Regions from separate parts of the Homo sapiens genome. Here region 1 is linked to region 2. Evidence: promoter capture Hi-C in human tissues and cell types (Jung and others, 2019). All regions are on one chromosome and are shown on one strand. Each heading gives the region's core, a stretch centred on a gene start or on the middle of the fragment in contact. The rest is flanking DNA. Distances are from core to core; before and after follow the strand shown. Region 1 overlaps MIR5689HG (MIR5689 host gene). Region 2 holds the start of TMEM14C (transmembrane protein 14C).

Region 1 (6,259 bases), core at 2,173-4,672, 280 kb before region 2:
TGTATATGTGCCACATTTTCTTAATCCAGTCTATCATTGTTGGACATTTGGGTTGGTTCCAAGTCTTTGCTATTGTGAATAGTGCCGCAATAAACCTACGTGTGCATGTGTCTTTATAGCAGCATGATTTATAATCCTTTGGGTATATACCCAGTAATGGGATGGCTGGGTCAAATGGTATTTGTAGTTCTAGATCCCTGAGGAATCGCCACACTGACTTCCACAATGGTTGAACTAGTTTACGGTCCCACCAACAGTGTAAAAGTGTTCCTATTTCTCCACATCCTCTCCAGCACCTGTTGTTTCCTGACTTTTTAATGATCACCATTCTAACTGGTGTGAGATGGTATCTCATTGTGGTTTTGATTTGCATTTCTCTGATGGCCAGTGATGATGAGCATTTTTTCATGTGTTTTTTGGCTGCATAAATGTCTTCTTTTGAGAAGTGTCTGTTCATATCCTTCGCCCACTTTTTGATGGGGTTGTTTATTTTTTTCTTGTAAATTTGTTTGAGTTCATTGTAGATTCTGGATATTAGCCCTTTGTCAGATGAGTAGGTTGCAAAAATTTTCTCCCATTTCGTAGGTTGCTTGTTCACTCTGATGGTAGTTTCTTTTGCTGGAATGCTTAACTTTTCTTTCCTGCAAGAGGAAGACTGGGAGATTGAGAGGTGTGCCCAGGGTGTCAGCTCAGTGCCTGGTAGAGGCAGGTAACATGAGCTTTGAGCCCTGGCCTGTGGATTGTGTTGTGCTTGGACTGGCCTGTTACGCCATCTGCTTGCTTCTGCCTGAAATTCCTGTAACACAAGATAAAACCTCTCATTCTGCAATTTACCAATAAACCTTATAAAATCTGAGGCTAAGCCTTGTGAAATGGCAAACCCTAGAAAGCCAGAGAGCTGGCATGCGGTAGTTCAGCAGTGGCTGCAGGAAATAGAAGGAAAGGGAGTGAGGAGACAGGGTGCAAGCTGGAATGTGATCACAGGGGAGGGGGATCTCTGGACTATGGGGGAATGACGGGCAGCTTGAGGCCCTGAGATGAAAGACACTCCCTTTAAGAAAAACGTCTGTGACTCAGAGCCACAAGGCGTGTCAGGAGAAAGTTCTGATGAAACTGCATTCCATTCCTGGAGGAATACGCATTGCCATTGAAGTACAAACTCTAAAATGATGTAGGATTAATAATTAAGGCAACACTAGTAGTGGATGGTGGCCCAGAGAGCTTTCCCTAGCTTTGTTAATTTTCTTCTCTCCACAGCTTACGTAAGCAAATATTCACCCAAAGAGTAGAGAATGTTGAGACATTTAGCATTATGTATTAGTCTGTTCTCACAGTGCTATAAAAAAAAAATACCTGAGACTGGGTAATATATGAAGAGAAGTTTAATTGACTCAGTTCCGTAGACTGTACAGGAAGCACAGCTGAGGAGGCCTCAGGACACTTGCAGTCACGGCATGGGGCAAAGGGGAAGCAAGCACATCTTCACATGGCAACAGGAGAGAGAGCAAAGGGGGAAGCGCTACACACTTTTAAGCCACCAGATCTCATGAGAACTCACTCACTATCATGAGGACAGCAAGGGGGAAATTCTCCCCCATGAGCCAATCACCTCCCACCAGGTCCCTCCCCCAACATTAGGAATTACAATTTGCATGAGATTTGTGTGGCCACACGGAGCCAAACCATATCACATTGGTCAACCTATATAGTAATGTTTTTCTTAATCTAAATGTATACTAAGTTAGTGTTTTATCGATTTAAAAATACATCTTGAAAAGGATTTTGCAATTTACTTTTTTTTTTTTTTTGTGAGACAGAGTCTCACTCTTGTCCCCCAGGCTGGAGTGTAGTAGCGTGATCTTGGCTCGCTGCAATCTCTGCCTCCCAGGTTCAAGCAATTCTCCTGCCTCAGCCTCCTGAGTAGCTTGGATTACAGGCGCCTGCCACTACTCCCGGCTAATTTTTTGGTATTTTTAGTAGAGACAGGGTTTCACCATGTTGGCCAGGCTGGTTTCAAACTCCTGACCTCAAGTGATCCGCCCACCTCGGCTTCCCAAAGTGCTAGGATTACAGACGTGAGCCACCATGCCCAGCCCACAATTTCTTTTAAAACTAAACATATACAGTTGTCCATCAGTATCTGCAGGGGACTGGTTCCAGGTCTCCCTGCAAGTACCAAAATCACAGATGCTCAGGAATCTGATATAAAGCAGGGTAGTACTTGCATATAACCCACACACATCCTCCTGTATACTTTAAATCATCTCTAGATTACTTATAATACCTAGTACAAGGTGAAGACTATGTAAACAGTTGTTATACTGTATTTAAAAAAATAATTTCCACTTTCATTTTAGATTCAGGTGGTACATATGCAGGTTTGTTATATAAGTGTATTGCATGATGCTGAGGTTTGGAGTTCAATTGATCCCATCACTCAGATAGTGAGCATAATTATACTGTATACAGTTTAGGAAATAATAACAAGAAAAAAGTCTATACATATTCCATACAGACATGATCATCCTTTCCTCCCACCCCTTGATTTTTTATTGAATTCATGAATATTTGCTGAGTCCATGAATGTGGAACCCACGGATAGGGAAGGCTGACTGCACCTACATTATGACCTGGCAATTCCACACCTAGGTTACTCACCCGGGAGAAATAAAAGCATATGTCCTCAAAGAGGCTTGTTCAAAAATGTCCATAGCTTTATTCATAAATAACTGAAAGCTGAAAACAACCAATAGGAGAATGAATAAACTAACTGTGGTAAATTCAGACAATGAAATACTACACAATAAAAAAGGGAGGAACCGGCTGGGCGCGGTGGCTCACACCTGTAATCCCAGCACATTGGGAGGCCGAGGTGGGTGGATCACCTGGGGTCAAGAGTTCGAGACCAGCCTGGCCAACATGGTGAAACCCCATCTCTACTAAAAATACAAAAATAGTCAGGTGTGGTGGCACGCACCTCCAATCCCAGCTACTCGAAAGGCTGAGGCAGGAGAATCAGCTTGAATCCAGGAGGCAGAGGTTGCAGTGAGCTGAGATTGTGCCACTGCACTCCAGCCTGGGTGACTCTGTCTCAAAAAAAAAGGGGGGGTGGGGGGAGGAACCATTGATACATACAACATCATGATGAATTCCAAAAATGTTGTACTGAATGGAAGAAGCCTTACACAAGAAAGCACATACTGTTTATATATTTATCATCCTAGAACAAGCAAAACTAATCTATGGACTAATCTAAGGTGGGGGCAGGGGAATCCAGAGAAAGGGTTACCTTTGGGAGTTGGGCCATGGGGTTGGGGACCAGCTGTGCAGGGGAGCTTTCAGGGCAGTCTTAAGGTACTGGATCTCACCAGGGGTTTGCCTTGCTTGTATACATGGCCTTCCTTGCAACTTGCTGAATGGCACACTTATAAACTGTGCATTTTTTGTATTTAAATTTTACCTCAAAAGAAGAAGAAATCAACCAACATTGAACTCTAATAAAAGATATGCATGTTGGAACATATGGGGAGAAGTGTATTGCTGACTGCAACATACTTAGAAATGCATTAAAAAGACAAGATGCTTTGGGAGGCCAAGGCGGGTGGATCACCTGAGGTCAGAAGTTCAATACCAGGCTGGCCAACATGATGAGACCCCGTCTCTACTAAAAATACAAAAATTAGCCGGGCATGGTGGTGCACACCTGTAATCCCAGCTACTCAAAAGGCTGAGGCAGGAGAGTCACTTGAGCCCGGGAGGCAGAGGTTGCAGTGAGCCGAGATCATGCCACTGCACTCCAGCCTGGGCAACAGAGTGAGACTCCATCTCAGAAAAAAAAAAAAAAAAGACAAGATAGATTGGTGGGTGGATAAACAGCTGGATAAATGGATAAATAGTAAATGAAGTACAGAAGAATGTTTATTGTTGAATCTAGCTGGTGAGCATATGAGTGTTCACCGTACAGTTTCTTCAATTCTGAGCTATGCTTAAAAGGTTTTATAATAAAATGTTGAAAAAAATTGATCTCGAATTAGAATTAGGAGTTCTAACAAAGAGCTTCTGCTATAACTTACATATTTCTGTAGGAGGTATTCCCATGAAGTTGGGGCAGTGGGAAGGCAGAGAAGTTGCAAGGAGAAAAATCTGTCAGTAATGGAAGGCTCTTATATTGCATTCGTTTCCCAAACACTGGCATATCATAGAGCTTCAATAAAAGCTTTTTGAATGAATGAAATGAATAAGACATTCCTCAACCAATGACTGCAGAAACTATAAAGGAATGATTCTGACATGAATATTACAGAAAACTCCGTGAGGGTATATACTTAGGCCAAAGAATAAACAAGTGTCTGAAATTATCAGACTTTAATACTCATTCCAGTGAATGTTTCTAAAGGACCAAAGGGATGAAAAAGAGAAATTTAAAGTCATATCTAAGACTAGCTTTTTGACTTGACACGTGACTCAGCCACTTTTGTATTACCACTGCCATCTTTGAATTAACACTGGAGAAGTATCTAGAACAATTGTGTTTTTCTCAGAGGTTGGAGGAAACGAGCATGACTCTTCCCCAAAATGCATTACTTCTCAAAAACTTACAGGGCTATTCTCTTTTATAGGTTTTTGTTTCTGTTTTTGTTTTTGAGACGGAGTCTCGCCCTGTCGCCCAGGCTGGAGTGCAGTGGCGCCATCTCGGTTCACTGCCACCTCCGCCTCTCGGGTTCAAGTGATTCTTCTGCCTCAGCGTCCCGAGTAACTGGGACTACGGGCCCAGCTAATCTTTTTTGTAGTTTCTGAAAATTTCTTTCACCTGTAGTACATGCAGACCCTGTCTCCATTTATTTTCCTTGGCCTGTTCTTTTTTTTGACAATCTCACTCCATTGCCCAGGCTGGAGTGCAGTAGCATGAACTTGGCTCACTGCAACCTCCACTTCCCAGGTTCAAGAGATTCTCGTGACTCAGCCACCTGAGTAGCTGGGACTACAAGTGTGCGCCACCATGCCTGGCTAACTTTTGTATTTTTAGTAGAGATGGGGTTTCACCATATTGACCAGGCTGGTCTCGAACTCCTGACCTCGTGATCCACCCACCTCGGCCTCCCAAAGTGCTGGGATTACAGGCATGAGCCACCACACCCGGCCTCTTTTATAGGTTTCTATGTAAGTAACATAAAGACTCTGGCAAGCAGTTAAAGCTCTTTAATTGTTCACCATTCTGGGCACTTAGGGTTGTGTTCTTTCTTGGTTTTGGAATAGCTTATGCTTACCTCTTTAATAACAGAGTAGAATTCTACTGTATAAGAGATCCTGGGCCGGGCGCAGTGGCTCACACCTGTAATCCCAGCACTTTGGGAGGCCAAGATGGGTGGATCATGAGGTCAGGAGTTCAAGACCAGCCTGCTCAATATGGTGAAACCCCATCTCTACTAAAAATACAAAAAGTTAGCCAGGCATGGTGGTGCATGCCTGTAATCCCAGCTACTTGGGAGGCTGAGGCAGGAGAATCGCTTGAACCTGGGAGGCAGAGGTTTCAGTGAGCCAAGATCGTGCCATTGCTCTCTAGCCGGGAGACAAGAGTGAAACTCTGTCTCAAAAGAAAAACAGAGATCCTGGGGGACAAGGGTGACACCCTTTACCAGGACAAGAGGCGTATTCAGGGACAGTGGGCTGGGGTAACTCAGAAAATCAAGATGAAATTTTTTTCCCCAGAAAAATCTCAAATTTTTCTTTGTTTTAACTGATTTCCGGTTTGACACTCCACAAGCAAAGTTAATTTTTAGGAACTTCTTAAGTTTAAGGACTATGTATTAGCACTGACCATGTGTCCCGCATTTTTGATGTATCGAGAAACAAGAGGGGCTCAGCTGTTTCTTGTCTGTCTTCACAGTCAAGGCCACATACTTTTTCCTGCCTTTTTAAAAAAGTAAGCTCAATCAGAAAAGCTGAAAAATAGCACACAAACAGCCAAATACCCCTCACATGGATTTAACAACTGTTATTATTTCATCATGTTTGCTTATCTCTTGATAGATAGGTAGGTAGATAAATAGACAGCAGATACCATATTTTTTTCCTAAGCCATTTGAAAGTAAGTTGCAGATGATACGATGTATCATGCTGACACACTTCAGAATGCATCCCCTCAAAATATATATCAAGGCTAGATTTTGAAGAGAGAAGTGGTGATGCTTTTTTTTTCTTTTTTTTTTTTTTAAGCTTGACTGGGTCATTGAGAGAGACTATGTTCTGGGCATTGTAT
Region 2 (6,795 bases), core at 4,093-6,592:
CTAGGTTCAAGCAATTCTCCTGCCTCAGCCTCCAGAGTACCTTGGATTACAGGGGTGTGCCACCACGCCTGGCTAATTTTTGTATTTCAGACCTTACTTTAAATCATAGCTGTACCACTGACAAAGACCGTAGATAATACAATTCTCTGAGGTTGAGTTTCTTCAAGTATAAGGTGAGGGGGAGAGTGCGGGAATCATGGTGGATGATCCTAATTAAGGTTTGAGGCTTGCGCCTGCATAGGGAAGAATGAGCCCCTAAAGCCGTTCCTGCAGGTTAAGACAAGTCTCCCTATTAATTGTTCAGGAAGGTCTTCAATTAAATTGAAGGTCTGGCATACTGCAATTCCTGCAAGTTCTTAGTCATTATCAGCGTTGGCTGGTTAGAATCAGCTGTGATAAACAAGGGCTTCAATTTTGCTATCTGCAAGGTAGGTGCTGCCACAAGTGGAAAGTTTGTCTTTAAGAATATACGCCGCGACCGGGCATGGTGGCTCACACCTGTAATCCCGACACTTGTGGGAGGCCCAGGCAGGCAGATTGCTTGAGGCTGGGAGTGTGGGACCAGCCTGGCCAACATGGTGAACCACTGTCTCTACTAAAAACACAAAAAATAGCCAGGCATGGTGCCACACATCTGTAATCTCAGCCGCTCAGGAGGCTGAGCAGGAAAATCACTTGAACCTGAGAGGCAAAGGTTGCAGTGAGCTGAGATCATGCCACTGCACTCCAGCCTGGGCAACTGTTAGAAATGCTTGTTCCCCAGCACCACAAAATAGCACTCAAACATAAATTTAATTCTCTCAGCAAGGCCATTTTCACTTCCTGCAGAAAGGGTGCTTCTCACAGATGGAACAACGGCAATAGCACACTTGAACAAAGGAAAAGCAGAGGGTTTACACATTTGGGTCCTCCTTACTGCTGTGTCCTGCATGCATTGACTGGTGCTGGACCTCGGTCTTAAATTTCCAATTTGCTAACAACCTGAAACTTTCCTAAATAGTTAGGTGCAAGGGAGGATAAAGGAGACTAAGTTGCTTATGAAAGGTTTAAGGAAATAATAACATTTCCAAATAAGGAAGGGGCATAAAATATGAGCTGAGACTTGCTTGGGCCTGTCCAGACATGCCTGAATAAGCCAAAGCAACTAACTGGGCTAAATCGTAAGAACTAACAGTTGATAGCAGGCTTTGGAGTAAGATGTGATTATTCCTGGTGTCTATTTTTAAACCAAGACAAGGTTTGAAGAGAAGCTTTTCTACTTTCTACAACAGCAAAACTCCATCTCAAAAAAAAAAAAAAAAGCAAAAACCATGCTACAAAGGCCAGCAAAGCAGCTCATGCCTCTAATCCCAGCACTTTGGGAGACTGAGGTGGGCAGATGAGATTAAGAGTTTGAGACCAGCTGGGCCAACATGGTGAAACCCCATTGTGTCTGGACTTTGTGGGTTCGTCTTGCTGACTTCAAGAATAAAGCCACAGACCCTCATGATTGAATGTTACAACTGTTAAAGATGGTGGGTCCAAAGTTTGTTCCTTCCGACATTCAGACATTATCTAGTTTCTTCCTACTGGTGGGTTCACGGTCTCACTGATTTCAGGAATGAAGCTGCAGGCCTTTGCAGTGAGTGTTACACCTCTTAGAGGTGGCACATCTGCAGTTACTTGTTCTTTCTGGTGGGTTTGTGCTCTCTGCTAGCCTCAGCAATAAAACCACCAACCTCTGCAGTCAGTGCTACAGTTCATAAAGGTGGCACATCCAGTTTTTCATCTGCTTTCAGTGGGTTTGTGGTCTCACTAGCTTCAGAAGCAAAACTGTAGCCTTATCACGGTGAGTATTAAAACTCATAAACATTGCACGGATCTAAAGAACTATCAGCACCAACATTTATTGCAAAAAGCAAAAGAACAAAGCTCTGTCAGCCCAAGAAAACACCCAAGCACGTTTCCCCTACTGGCTGTGGGTGGCCAGTTTTTATTCCCTAATCTGGCCACACCCACATCCAGCTGATTGGTCCATTTTACAGAGTGCCGATTGGTGCATTTGCAAACCTTTAGCTAGACACAGAGTGCTGATTGGTGCGTTTACAATCCTTTGGCTAGATACAAAAGTTCTCCAAGTCCTGACCAGATTAGCTAGACACAGAGCGCTGATTGGTGCGTTTACAAACCTTTAGCTAGACAAAAAACTGCTGACTGGTGCATTTACAATCCTTTAGCTAGACACAAAAGTTTTCCAAGTCCCCACCCGTCCCAGAAGCCCAGCGGGCTTCACCTCTCGCTGGGAGTTGGGTGGGACTTTTTGGCAACTAGCCTGGGCACTCCGGGAGCTCCTCCCACACAACCAAGAGGAAAAGAGGAGGAGAGAGACAGAGACCCGCCATCGTGGCCAACGACCCCGCCAAGAGGGAACGGCGGTCCACGCACTGGACCCAGCCTCCGATCAAGCCCAGCAGGGGCCGGCAGGTCGCGCCAAGTGCGGGGCCCACCGAGCCTGCGCCCACCTGGAACCCGGGGCAGCGCAGCCCCAGTCCCCGCCTGCGCCTCTCCCTCCACGCCTCCCCACGAGCAGATGGAGCCGGCTCCGGTCTCGGCCAGCCCCAGGGAGGGCCCCGCACAGCGCAGCGGCGGGCTGAAGGGCTCCTCGAGCCTGGCCGATGCTAAGGAGGCACCGAGAGCAAGCGAAGGCTGCTAGTGAGAGGTGACGACGTGCTGGCAGTCCTCAGAGCCCTCGCTCTCGGCGCCTCCTCTTCCTGGGCTCCCACTTTGGAGGCACTTGAGCCCTTTAGCCCACCGCTGCACTGTGGGAACCCCTTTCTGGGCTGGCCAAGGCCAGAGCTGGCTCCCTCAGCTTGCAGGGAGGTGTGGAGGAAGAGGCGCGAGCGGAAACCAGGGCTGCGCGCGGCGCTTCCGCGCCAGTTGGAGTTCCGGGTGGGCGTGGGCTTGGCGGGCCCCGCACTCGGAGCAGCCGGCCGGCCGGCCCTGGGCAATGAGGGGCTTGGCACCCAGGCCAGCGGCTGCAGAGGGTGTACTGGGTCCCCCAGCAGTGCCAGCCCACCGGCGCTGCGTTGGATTTCTCGCGGGGCCTTAGCTGCCTTCCGACGGGGCAGGGCTCGGAACCTGCAGCCCGCCATGCCTGAGCCTCCCACCACCTCCGTGGGCTCCTGTAGGGCCCGAGCCTCCCTGATGAGCACCACCCCCTGCTCCACAGGGCCCAGTCCCATCAACCACCCAAGAGCTGAGAAGTGTGGGCGCAGGGCGCAGGACTGGAAGGCAGCTCCACCTGCAGCCCTGGTGTGGGATCCACTGGGTGAAGCCAGCTGGGTTAAGTCTGGTGGGGAGGTGGAGAACCTTTATGTTTAGCTCAGGGATTGTAAATACACCAATTGGCACTCTATATCTAGCTCAAGGTTTGTAAACACACCAATCAGCCCCCTGTGTCTGGCTCAGGGTTTGTGAATGCACCAATGGACACTGTATCTAGCTACTCTGGTGGGGACCGTGGAGAACCTTTATGTCTAGCTTAGGGATTGTAAATACACCAATCGGCACTCTGTATCTAGCTCAAGGTTTGTAAACACACCAGTCAGCACCGTGTGTCTAGCTCAGGGTTTGTGAATGCACCAATCCACACTCTGTATCTAGCTACTCTGGCAGGACCTTGGAGAACCTTTGTGTGGACACTCTATAGCTAATCTGGTGGGGACGTGGAGAACTTTTGTATCTAGCTCAGGGATTGTAAACGCACCAATCAGCACCCTGTCAAAACAGACCACTCGGCTCTACCAATCAGCAGGATGTGGGTGGGGCCAGATAAGAGAATAAAAGCAGGCTGCCCAAGCCAGTAGTTGTAACGCACTTGGGTTTTCTTCTATGTGGAGGAGGCTTTGTTCTTTCTCTTTTTCTTTTTGCAACAAATATTGCTGTTGCTCGGTGCTTAGGTCCTGTGTTGTCTTTACAAGTGGTAACGCTCACTGCGAAGATTTGCAGTTTTGCTCCCAAAGCTACGAAGACCACGATCCCACCGGAAAGAACAAACATATTCCAGACGCACTGCCTTAAGAGCTTTAACATTCGTTATAGAAGTCTGTAGCTTTGCTCCTTGAGCCAGTCCAAAGCTAGGGAGACCACGATCCCACCGGGAAGAACAAACAATTCCAGACACACTGCCTTAAGAGCTTTAACATCCACCACAGAGGTCTGTAGCTTTGCTCGTTGAGCCAGTGAGACAGCAAACCCACCAGCAGAAAAACTCCCTGAATACTTCTAAACATCGGAAGAAAAACTCTAGAGACACTGCTTTTAAGAACTAACACTCATCGCGAGGGTCTGCAGCTTTCTCAAGTCAGACCAAGAAGCCATCAATTTTGAACACACTGGCACGTTGTGATCTCTCACTATCTCCACTAAAAATAACAAAAATTAGCCTGGCAGCCAGGGGTGGTGGTACAGGCCTATAATCCCAGCTACTCAGGCAGCTGAGGCAGGAGAATCAGTTGAACATGGGAGTCAGAGGTAGTGGTGAGACAAGATCATACGCTGCACTCCAGCCTGGGCAATAGAGTGAGACTCCACATAAAAAAAAAAAAAACTTGGCTGGAATTCGCTTTATTCACTGACAATTATATTGGTCAGATTTGTGTATGTTGATACTTGTAGGGGATGGAGAGGGAGAAGTCAACGATGACAGCAAATTTTAGTGTAGAGCAACTAAGAGAATGGTGGTGCAGGAAACGGAATAGGAGTGACTCCAAGTGGGAATGGAGATAATATGCTGTGGATATTTTGGGTCCACAGAGCTGGGTAAAAATCAGGTTTAACTTACTCCCCATCCCCCTTTAAGATGCTTCTCAAGCAGCCTCACTCCCTAAAACAAACGGATATTTGGCTTTGAGCCACATTATTCTGCAGCCCCCGTATTTTCTTCCAGGCAGGCCCTTCCTGGTGTAGACAAGATCGGGCTTGAGTGACACTCCTCCCTGATGGCCTGCATCTGGTTTATACCCTGTAACTTGTTCCTCTATTAATGGGGTCCTTCAAAATCCAGCCTCAGATTCCCTGGTCCCGCAGCGGTGGCCTCACCTCTGGCGTGGCCGAGCTCACGTGGTCCGGCTTGTGCAAGTCCCAGGTCCAACTCCGGGTCTCCTGCTTTTGGCCACTCAGGATTGGACCTGGGACTGATACTGGTCGGCCCTGCAGGCGCTGCGGACAGGGGAAGCACAGAGATTCCCCGCCGCGTTCCCTGGACTCAGGAGCTCGCCGCGATGCCCCGCCCCACTCTCCACCCGCTGAATGCAGGGCGCATGCTGCTACTTGGCGGCTCAAGCCCCGCCCGCACCGTCCCCATTCTCTGACCGCCCCTCTCCCGGTACACTGCGCAGGCACAACAGAGCCGCTCCCCTCTCCTCGCCCCGCCACCGGGACGGAGAGCGCCCGCCGCTGCATTTCCGGCGACACCTCGCAGTCATTCCTGCGGCTTGCGCGCCCTTGTAGACAGCCGGGGCCTTCGTGAGACCGGTGCGAGTATTTGGGGATTATTCTTATTTTCTGCCACTTTTAACTTTTAGGGATTATTTAGGAGTTTCACGGCCGTCTGCTTTTCGTCCCCCCGATTCAGCGGGCCTTCAGGCCGTGTGGTCGGTGCTTTTCTCGTTGGGTATTTTCTGCTTTTAAAAGAAGTTGTGGATGCGCGGAGCCCCTGGGCTCCTGAGGCAAAGGCTTACCCATGTAGCATAGTGTTGCCTCGTTTCTTGGTGATTTTCTTGCTCCATCTCTTTAAAAGCCTCCCTTACTCGGTGCCGTCTCGAGTTAAGAACTGTGGGCAAGATCCCAAGCCCGCTGCCCTTCCCTGTTTTATGGAAACTTAATTCTTTTTTTTTTTTTTTTTGTCCTTGAGGGAGGGACTTGCTCTGTCGCCCATGCTTGAGTGCAGTTGCCTGAATATGTCTCATTGCAGCCTCTGCCTCCTGGGCTCAAGCCATCCTCCCACTTCAGCCTCCCAAGTAGCTGGGATTTACAGTCGCATATCACCATGCGCGATTAATTTTTTTATATTTTTTAGTAGACAATGGGTTTCACTATGTTGGCCAGGCTGGTCTTGAACTCCTAACCCCAGGTGATCCGCCCGCCTCGGCCTCCTAAAGTACTGGGATGACAGGCGTCAGCCACTGCGCTTGGCCTAATTCTTTAAACAGAATAAACGGGGTATGCATTGCTTTCATCTTTTGGCTCACTGGACACAGGATACTTTCTGTAAGAAAATAGAAGCTGTTTTTCCAAGGGTGTAGTGTCACATGTGAATATGACCACTGTTTCCGTATATTTTATCCTCTCCTACTACTGCCCTCCTAACAAGAACTGTGAGTTGGACGCAGAAGTTTCTAAAAAAGTTGAGCTTTGAAATTGGCTGTTGCAGCAGGGATGAAAAGCAACACCCCTACCTCCCCTCAAAAGAGACATTAAAGTAGTTGGATTAAGGGCACGGGAGTATTTGCTTTTGAATTTAGTGATAACATGGGTAGCTGATGAAATGACTAACACATTCCCTGATTTTAGAGCTGGTCAGTGGATCTTGCTGAGTTTCCCGTGGGCCTATGTGATTAAAACTGAGGTTTTCATGACAATGGTCAGCATCTGTTCAGGGTTTACTAGGTGCTAAGCACCTTTACATGTGACATCCATTGAATGCTCACTACAGCCCCAGGAAATCGGTACCAGTGTTATCCTCATGGTACAGTGAAGAATACTGAGACTTAGGTTGCGTAGCTTGCAGGTTGGACACACTTCTTTCTGACTGCT

The links. Contacts are between HindIII fragments. The study calls those that stand out against the background at their distance.
Region 1: a contact is called between a fragment that was not itself captured here and the fragment with the promoter of TMEM14C in region 2, in 1 of the 25 tissues and cell types used here (IMR-90 fibroblasts).

The regions. Positions count from the first base shown.
Region 1 is chr6:10,440,367-10,446,625 of GRCh38, forward strand. All of the region lies in intron 1 of MIR5689HG (MIR5689 host gene), which reads left to right. Among named protein-coding and RNA genes, the nearest start is that of MIR5689, 3.8 kb to the left of the region's middle. RefSeq lists enhancers at 369-869, 870-1,370. The HindIII fragment of the contact is 3,588 bases long and covers 1,629-5,216 here.
Region 2 is chr6:10,717,728-10,724,522 of GRCh38, forward strand. It overlaps TMEM14C (transmembrane protein 14C), which reads left to right and starts at 5,343. Exons shown (of 6, transcript NM_016462.4): 1 at 5,343-5,514. RefSeq lists silencers at 2,400-2,559, 2,890-3,029, 5,274-5,403 and an enhancer at 5,343-6,239. The HindIII fragment of the contact is 20,984 bases long and covers 1-6,795 here.